Regions from separate parts of the Homo sapiens genome. Here all the other regions are linked to region 1. Evidence: promoter capture Hi-C in human tissues and cell types (Jung and others, 2019). All regions are on one chromosome and are shown on one strand. Each heading gives the region's core, a stretch centred on a gene start or on the middle of the fragment in contact. The rest is flanking DNA. Distances are from core to core; before and after follow the strand shown.

Region 1 (2,700 bases), core at 53-2,552:
ATCAGCAGGGATTTTTTTTTTTTTATTTTTACACAAGGATGAAGGAGACATGAATGAGTTGAAACTTGCAAACAGGGTGGACCTTACCTTCAAGGACCCTGGCAGACCCTCTCTGAACAAAACTGGAGACATCTACCAGGAGCAAGGGTGGTCACGGCCATTAGAAGGTGCCCTTCCATGCGGAGTTGTCTTACATCTAAGGCATAGGAATCTCTAAGCTCTACGAAGACAGGGACCTCATCATCTTGTTCATCAGGCAGGCATGTCATAGCTTATAATAAATGCATATTTATTGGCTGGGCGCGGTGGCTTATGCCTGTAATCCCAGCACTTTGGGAGGACGAGGTGAGCGGATCAACTGAGGTCAGGAGTTTGAGACCAGCCTGGCCAAAGTGGTGAAGCCCCATCTCTACTAAAAATACAGAAATTAGCTGGGCATGTTGGCCCACATTTTTAATCCCAGCTACTCGGGAGGAGGATTGCTTGGACCCAGGATGCAAAGGTTGCAGTTAGCCAAGATAGTGCCATTGCACTCCAGCCTGGGTGACAAGATCGACTCTGTCTCAAAAAATAAATACATGCATATTTATTTATTTATTTTATTTTTGGAGAGTGTGTCTCTCTCTGTCGCCCAGGCTGGAGTGCAATGGCACAGTTATAGCTCACTGCAGCCTTGACTTCCTGGCTCAAGCAATCCTCCCACCTCAGCCTCGCGAGTAGCTGGAACTACAGGTGGACATCACCACACCTGGCCATTTTTTTTTGTAGAGATGGGGTCTCACTATGTTGCTGGTCTCCAACTCCTGGTTTCAAGTGATCCTCCCTCCTAGGCCTCCCAAAGTGCTGGGATTACAGAGGTGAGCCACTTACCTGACCCATAATAAATATTTATTGAACGAACGACTGAATTCACCAATTAATCGCTATTTCCTGATAGCCCACCGGGATCCGCTGGTGCAATGATAAAGAGCGCAGGCTTTGAGATCAGGCGGATCTGTATTGGGACTGCGGCTCTCAGCCTCCGCTTGTACCTGCTGTGCAGTGAGGACTCCAGGAACTGATGATGAACCGGCACGGTCCTCGGCACGTGGCAAGTTCTCCATAAGTGGGCTCAGTAAAATCCCTCTCCCGGGAAAGCGCCCCACCGTGTTTGGTGGGGTGACTGGGACGCGAGGATGCGGCTGGGAGTGTGATGAGAAGGGCGGGGATCGGCGAGGACTCCAGGCTGGGGTTGCAGGCCCAGCCAGGGGCGGAGCCTTCTCCGGGTCGGGCGGGGACAGAGCGCTCCCTTGGAGGCACCCAGGGACCTGGCCAGCCGTGCAGCTGCCCAGGCGCTATGGCGAGTGCGGTCAGGGGGTCGAGGCCGTGGCCCCGGCTGGGGCTCCAGCTCCAGTTCGCGGCGCTGCTGCTCGGGACGCTGAGTCCACAGGTGAGAGCCAGGGACCGACGCCAAGTCCCCAAAGTCTGGTCGCGGGGCGCAGGGGGCGGCGTCGCACTTGGGGCGAGGGCGCGGCGGGGCCACGGGGGCACCTCTCCCTCCCTCACGCCTGGGTGGTCCCAACTCGGCCCCAACGGAGTAAAAGCCTCCTGGGTTTGGGGAGCCGCCAGTTGCCCCCAACAAATACCTAGCTGGGGAGATCTGCCAGCGTGGAAAGGCAAGAGTAGACAGAGCACCCCGCCTCTTCAGCAGGGAGAGGTGTAGTCTGGGGTAGGGGGGCACCTGGGCACGAAAGCCAGGCCTCTTAAAACTTCTGGGAATCCTGGCTTCCTTTGAAAATATGATTGACTTCAGGGCCCTCTGCTGAGAAATGAGCCTGCACGCCCAGTTTTGCAATTTCAGAGGCTTTACAATACGGTCCCCTTACCCATGGCTGCACCCCAGGTTCAGAACCTATGGGATAAATGAGCTGGGAGTGTCAGTATCTGCTCCCACGGTGCCAGGAATAGCAGAGTCTTACAGAAATGCAGCCAGGAGGCAAAAGTCGCCTGGCCTAAGAATCCAGGTGTCCCGCCTAGAACCCCCATGGGGCAAAAGCGATCAGGTAGAGTTAGGCACCTCTCATTCCCGGCTTCCACCTCATGGGTCCACCTCATGGTTGCCAGCTAAGAATGCAAGCCCAGTGTGGCCAGATCGGATGTCTCTGGAAAAATTAGAAATGAGAAAGATTTGAAATCTTGGTTTTTTTGTAGAAATCATCCAATTTTTAAAAAAATTGGCAGCTAATTGAAAAATTTTTAAGCACTAGATGGTCAAACAAAATTCATTTCTGGGCAACCAATCTGCAGCCTCTTCTCCAAACCGTTCTCCCTCCTGCCATGCTGCAGATGACAAAATTGAAGCCCAGAAAGAAAGAGGGGCTAGCAGATAATTTCCTGACCCTCCACTCAACACCAGTGGCCCAGCCCCAAACCTGAGGGTCCTGAAGCAGGATGTGGCCTTTGTAGGGGTGCGGCTGGGCCACCCGGATGTTAGGCCTCCTGCTGGGAGCTCAGCCTCACCCTGTTTGCTCAAGGAGGGACTGGAGCAGGTGAGTGAGCCCAGGATCGCCAGATGTAAGTACGGGTGGCTCCAGCCCCCCTCCCAAGGGCACCCCCCAGCCTTGGGTCAAGGGACCCACTGGAGCCTGGCACCAAAACCAGCTGGGCTGGTTTGGGGAGGCAGAAAGGGGCATCCCAAAAGAGGTAGACATTGTGGCAGAG
Region 2 (2,901 bases), core at 118-2,617, 45 kb before region 1:
TGAGCAATGGGGGCTCAAATCTGCTGGAAATTGCTATGAAAATTAAGAAAACATGTATCTAAATTGTGCCACCTGAATGATGAAGTAATGGGTATTTATCCAACCAATTTCCATCTGTCACTAGTTGAGAGCTACTCCTAATGTCATTAAATCCTGGCACTTCCACCCTGCCCTTTATACAGGCTGAATATGTGCAAAGCCCTGGAGCAAGGCATCACAGTGCTTGCAAAAAGAAGCCACTAGCATGTAAGGCTGGGTGCAGTGGCCCATGCCTATAATCCCAGCACTTTGGGAGGCCGAGGTGGGTGAATCACTTGAGTCTAGGAGTTCAAGACTAGCCTGGGCAACATGGTGAAACCCCACCTCTTTTTAAAAAAAAAATTAGCTAGGCATGGTGGCATGTGCCTGTAGTCCAAGCTACTCAAGAGGCTGAGGTGGGAGCATTGCTTGAGCCCGAGAGGCAGAGGTTGCAGTGAGCCAAGACTGCCACTGCACTCCAGCCTGGGTGACAAAGCTAGACCCTGTCTCAAAAAAAAAAAAAAAAAAAAAGGAAAGAAAGATAAGAAAAGAAAGAAAGAAAAAGAAAGAAAGAAAGAAAGAAAGAAAGAAAGAAAGAAAGAAGGGAGAAAAAAGGAAAGAAACCATTGGCATGCAAAGTAATGGGAAATGTCTAGCAGGTAGTGTGCAGATAAATGTTTAACAACTGGCTTTCCAGGAGGAAAAAGCCTTAACCTGTTGCAGTTACCAATGTCTGTGGTGTAAATATTCCTGCTATAGCCAGTTTCAAGCTGCTAACATATCATTGAAAGCAGAGTTGAGATGTTATGAGCACAACTGGTTCTCATGTGTTGATGATACAAGACAACCAAAGACCAGCTCTGGGAGGGAGAAAAACAGCAGGGCAATTACAGTGTCTCCCACAGGTGCAACCAGAGAGCTCTGCTGCAGACATAGAGTCTCATAGTTTTATGGGACTTCCTGCTCCATTCCATCTTATATCAATGTTTGAACATCTTACCATGAAAACAAGCTTACTCTTAGAATCTTCGAATGCATTCACACTCTAGGAAGGTATATATTGTTTATTATTTTTACATCGTCTCTTCCCTACTGCATCAAGCCCCATCATCCTAGCATGCACCCAGGAAATCAGCAAAAACCCATTTAAGAGTCCAGACTTCAAGGGTCCCTCACAGTAATGGGCATCTCTTGTTTTGCCCGAGCAGAGCAGACCACTCGTTTCCCCTTATTCTGCTAATTGTATTTCATTTTCCTTTAAGCAACCACCTTTCACCCCATCCTGAATCCTCAGACCTTATTTCCCTGGCTCTAGGAATTAGCACATGACACAGGCCTGGCCACTCAGAGTGTTTCATTCCCCTAGAAGTAGAGATGAGACCCCAAACGGGTCAATGACACTCTCCACTTGGAATTATTGGAATAAGTAAATCTCTTCCCACTGGGTTACTGGGTTAGCAGGATAGAAGCCTGGAGCTGATGGTGGTCATCTCCATCACTAGGAAAGAGCCTTCCTGAAAATCAGGCTTACAGACAGAAAAAGCTGAGCTGGGAGATGGAGAATAACTGGAGCCTGATGACATCATTTGTGCCCTTGGATCCAGCTGTGCCTAAAGGCAGATACTTCTGGACTTTTTAATTACCTGAATTCATAAAATTTCTTTCTGACTTAAGTCACTTTGAGTTGGGTTTTCAGTGATTTGCAACTAAAATATTGCTGGCTGATTCACAGCTCTGAGACCAAATGAGATAGACCTGGTGTGGGGTCTGTGGTCTGTTAGGAACCGGGCTGCACAGCACAAGGTGAGCGGCAGGCGAGCTGAAGCTTCATCTATATTTACAGCCACTCCCCATTGCTTGCATTACCGCCTGAGCTCTGCCTCCTGTCAGATCAGCAGTGGCATTAGATTATCATAGGAGCCCAAATCCTACTGTGAACTGCACACCAAAGGATCTAGATTGTGCACTCCTTATGAGAATCTAATGCCTGATGATCTGTCACTGTCTCCCATCACTCCCATATGGGACCGTCTAATTGCAGGAAAACAAGCTCAGGGCTCCTGCTGATTCTACATTATGGTGAGTTGTATAATTATTTCATTATATATTACAATGTAATCATAATAGAAATAAAGTGCACAATAAATGTAATGCACTTGAATCATCCCAAAACCATCCCCTGTCACCCATCCGTGGAAAAACTGTCCCTGATGCCAAAAAGGTTGGGGACTGCTGAGCTAGACTTTAGTACACATCCTTCCAGCTTTCTTCTCTTGGCCCTAAATAGAGTTAGAAACGAAAATACAGTTTATTGTCGCCCTGCGTCCATGCGTCCATGGGGGCTTTGGATGAATTCCAAGGAGATACTGGTTGCAGGAGCAAGCCCAAGGCACAAACGGAGTCACTTCAGGATCCGGATGCTCATTTTTTGCTCAACGTCCATCTTCTCTAAGGACTGAGGGAAAAACAAATGGCAGGCAAGAGGCTTGACTCTCAGCTCTCCATGCTCCCAACCTCCTCCCCCAGGGTTCTACCCATTCCAGAGACCCCATCATTCCCAGGCAACCCCTATCTTTCCGCCCTCCTCCGTTGAACGTTTCCCAAGTCTGTCTGCCCCAGAACTCCTGATCTCAACTCCCCAATCCCCAAGGGCACTCTGACCTTGGTGAACTCCACGAAGGACACAGCCCCATCCCCATCTTCATCAGCCTCCTGCACCGTGCGGTCAGCGATGTTCTCCAGCTGCTCTTCTGTCACCTGTACCCCAACCATCAGACGGAGAACCTGAGAGATGAGTGAAGAGGCAGCCATAAGGAGGGGGCACGAAGGCTGCAACTCCCCATCTCCTAAACCTTGCCCACCTCATCCCAAAAGTTATTGCTA
Region 3 (2,733 bases), core at 222-2,721, 58 kb after region 1:
AACTGGATAGTGACCCAGTTTCTGCAATATATAAATGGCATGGAGAGAAAAAAGGGTTGGGGAAAGAGAACTGTTACAGATTAAAAGAGACTTAAGAGACATATCAACCAAATACAATGTGTGCAGCATCATGTTTGGATTCTGCTTTGAACAAATGAACTGGAAAAAGATATCCTGAGATACTGGGAAGACTGAATATGGACTGAGCGTTAGATGGTATTAAGGAAGTACTGGAGTTTTTACAATATTAACATGATAACAGTGATACTCTACTCATTTTTGTTTGTTTATAGAGACAGGGTCTCGCTCTGTCACCCAGGCTGGAGTGCAGTGGCATGATCATGGCTCACTGTAACCTTGAACTCCTGGGCTCAAGAGATCCTTCTGCCTCAGCCTCCAGGTAGCTGGGACTACAGGTGCATGCCACTAGACCTGGCTAATTTTTCTTTTCATTTTTTGTAGAGACATGGTCTTGCTATGTTGCCCAGGCTGGTCACAAATGCCTGGCCTCAAGTAATTCTCTTACTTCAGCCTCCCAAGTGCTAGGATTCCAATTGTGAGCCACCATGCCCCACCTCTACTGAATTTTTAAGTCCTTAAGAATTAGTAAGACACACTGAAGTATTTGTGGGTGAAATAATATGACATTTGCAATTTGTTTTAAAATACCATCCAGCCGGGAATGGTGGCTCATGCCTGTAATTCTAGTACTTTGGGAGGCTGATGCAGGAGGACTGCTTGAGCACAGGAGGGCAAGACCAGCCTGGGAAACATGGCAAAACCCTATCTTTGCAAAAAATACAAAAATTAGCCAGATGTGGTGGTGTGCACCTGTAGTCCCAGCTACTCAGGAGTCTGCGGTGGGGGGATTGTCTGAGTATGTGGAGGTCGAGGCTGCGGTAAGCTGAGATCACACCACTGCACTCCCACCTGGGTGACAGAGCAAGACTGTGCCTCAAGAAAAAAAAAAAAAAATTAAGCAGGGCATGGTGGCACGTGCCTATAGTCCCAGCTACACCAGAGGCTGAGGCGGAAGGATCACTAAGAATCAAGGCTACAGTGAGCTATGATAGTGCCACTTGCTGCACTCCAGCCTGGGCAACAGAGTAAGACTCTGTCTCAGAAAAAGAAAAAATAAATAAGTAAGAATAAAAAACTCTAGCGTTCCCTACCCCACCCTAGTCAAACTAGGACTTGAGTTTACAAGGTGAGTTTAGAGATGAAGCAAAAATGTCAGAATATTGCTAATTATGGAAGCTGGTAAATGAGTTTGTGGGAATTCCTTATATATCCTCTCTACTTTTGTACATGTCTTAAAAGTTCCATAATGATAATATTTAGCTATAAAAAGGAAAAAATAATAATCTGCTACTATATGCAACAAGATGGATACATCTCAAAAACATTATGCTGCGTGAAAAAAGCTTGACATAAAAGAGTATATGATTCTAACCCAGATATCCATGAATGGGCGAAAGGATAAAGAAAATGTGGTATATATCACTTCTTGGCCTTTTGGCTAAGATCAAGTGAAGAAAATGTAGTATATATACATAATGGAATATTATTCAGTCATAAAAAAGAACGAAATCCTGTCATTTGCAGCAACATGGATGGAACTGGAGGTTACTATATTAAATGAAATAAGCCAAGCACAGAAAGACATATATCACACGTTCTCACTCATATGTGGGCACTAAAAAAGCAGATTTCAAGACAGAGAGTAGACTGTTGGTTACCAAAGGCCAAGAAAGGTAGGAGGAAGGAAGAGGGGTTAATTAATGGGCACAAATATACAGCTTGATAGAAGAAATAAGACCTAGAATTTGATAGGTCAGTAGGGTGACTACAGTTTACAGTAATCTATTATGTATTTCAAAACAGCTAGAAGGAAATAATTTTTTTTAAACTTTTAAGTTCAGGGGTACATATGCAGGTTTGTTACATAGGTAAACTTGTGTCATGGAGGTTTGTTGTACACATTATTTCATCACCCAGGTATTAAGCCTAGTACCCATTATTTTTCCCGATCCTTTCCCTCCTGCACCCTCCCAACTCCCCGCTCCCATAGGCCCCAGTGTGTGTTGTTCCCCTCTATGTGTCCATGTGTTCTCATCATTTAGCCTCCAGCTCCATCCATGTCCCTGCAAAAAATATGATCTCATTCTTTTTTATGGCTGCATTGTATTTCATGGTGTACCTGTACCACATTTTCTTTATCCAGTCTATCACTGATAAGCATTTAGGTTGATTCCATGTCTTTGCTATTGTGAACAGTGTTGCAATGAATATATGTGTGCACATGTCTTTATAATAGAATGATTTATATTCTTTTGGGTATATATCCAGTAATGGGATTGCTGGGTCAAATGGTATTTCTGTCTTTAGGTCTCTGAGGAATCACCACACTGTCTTCCACAATGGTTACACTCCCACTAACAGTATGTAAGTGTTCCTTTTTCTTCACAACCTCACCAGCATCTGTTATTTTCTGACTTTTTAATAACAGCTATTCTGACTGGTGTGAGACGGTATCTCGTGGTTTTGATTTGCACTTCTCTAATGATCAGTGATGTTGAGCTTTTTGTCATGATTATTGTATTTCTTCTTTTGAAAAGTGTCTGTTCATGTCCTTTGCCCACTTTTTAAATGGGGTTGTTTTCTACTTGTAAATTTGTTTAATTCCTTTAGATGCTGGATATTAGACCTTTGTCAGATGCATAGTTTGCAAAA

The links. Contacts are between HindIII fragments. The study calls those that stand out against the background at their distance.
Region 2: a fragment that was not itself captured here is called in contact with the fragment with the promoter of ERN2 in region 1 in 3 of the 25 tissues and cell types used here (aorta, spleen and stomach).
Region 3: a contact is called between a fragment that was not itself captured here and the fragment with the promoter of ERN2 in region 1, in 1 of the 25 tissues and cell types used here (small bowel).

The regions. Positions count from the first base shown.
Region 1 is chr16:23,711,824-23,714,523 of GRCh38, reverse strand. It overlaps ERN2 (endoplasmic reticulum to nucleus signaling 2), which reads left to right and starts at 1,302. Exons shown (of 22, transcript NM_033266.4): 1 at 1,302-1,429. The coding sequence starts at 1,337. The HindIII fragment of the contact is 19,919 bases long and covers 1-2,700 here.
Region 2 is chr16:23,757,102-23,760,002 of GRCh38, reverse strand. It overlaps CHP2 (calcineurin like EF-hand protein 2), which reads right to left. Exons shown (of 7, transcript NM_022097.4): 6 at 2,680-2,802; 7 at 1,068-2,473. The coding sequence ends at 2,420. Among named protein-coding and RNA genes, the nearest start is that of CHP2, 3.5 kb to the right of the region's middle. The HindIII fragment of the contact is 3,201 bases long and covers 1-2,901 here.
Region 3 is chr16:23,653,786-23,656,518 of GRCh38, reverse strand. The region is part of intron 2 of DCTN5 (dynactin subunit 5); the gene reads right to left. Among named protein-coding and RNA genes, the nearest start is that of DCTN5, 14 kb to the right of the region's middle. The HindIII fragment of the contact is 3,291 bases long and covers 1-2,733 here.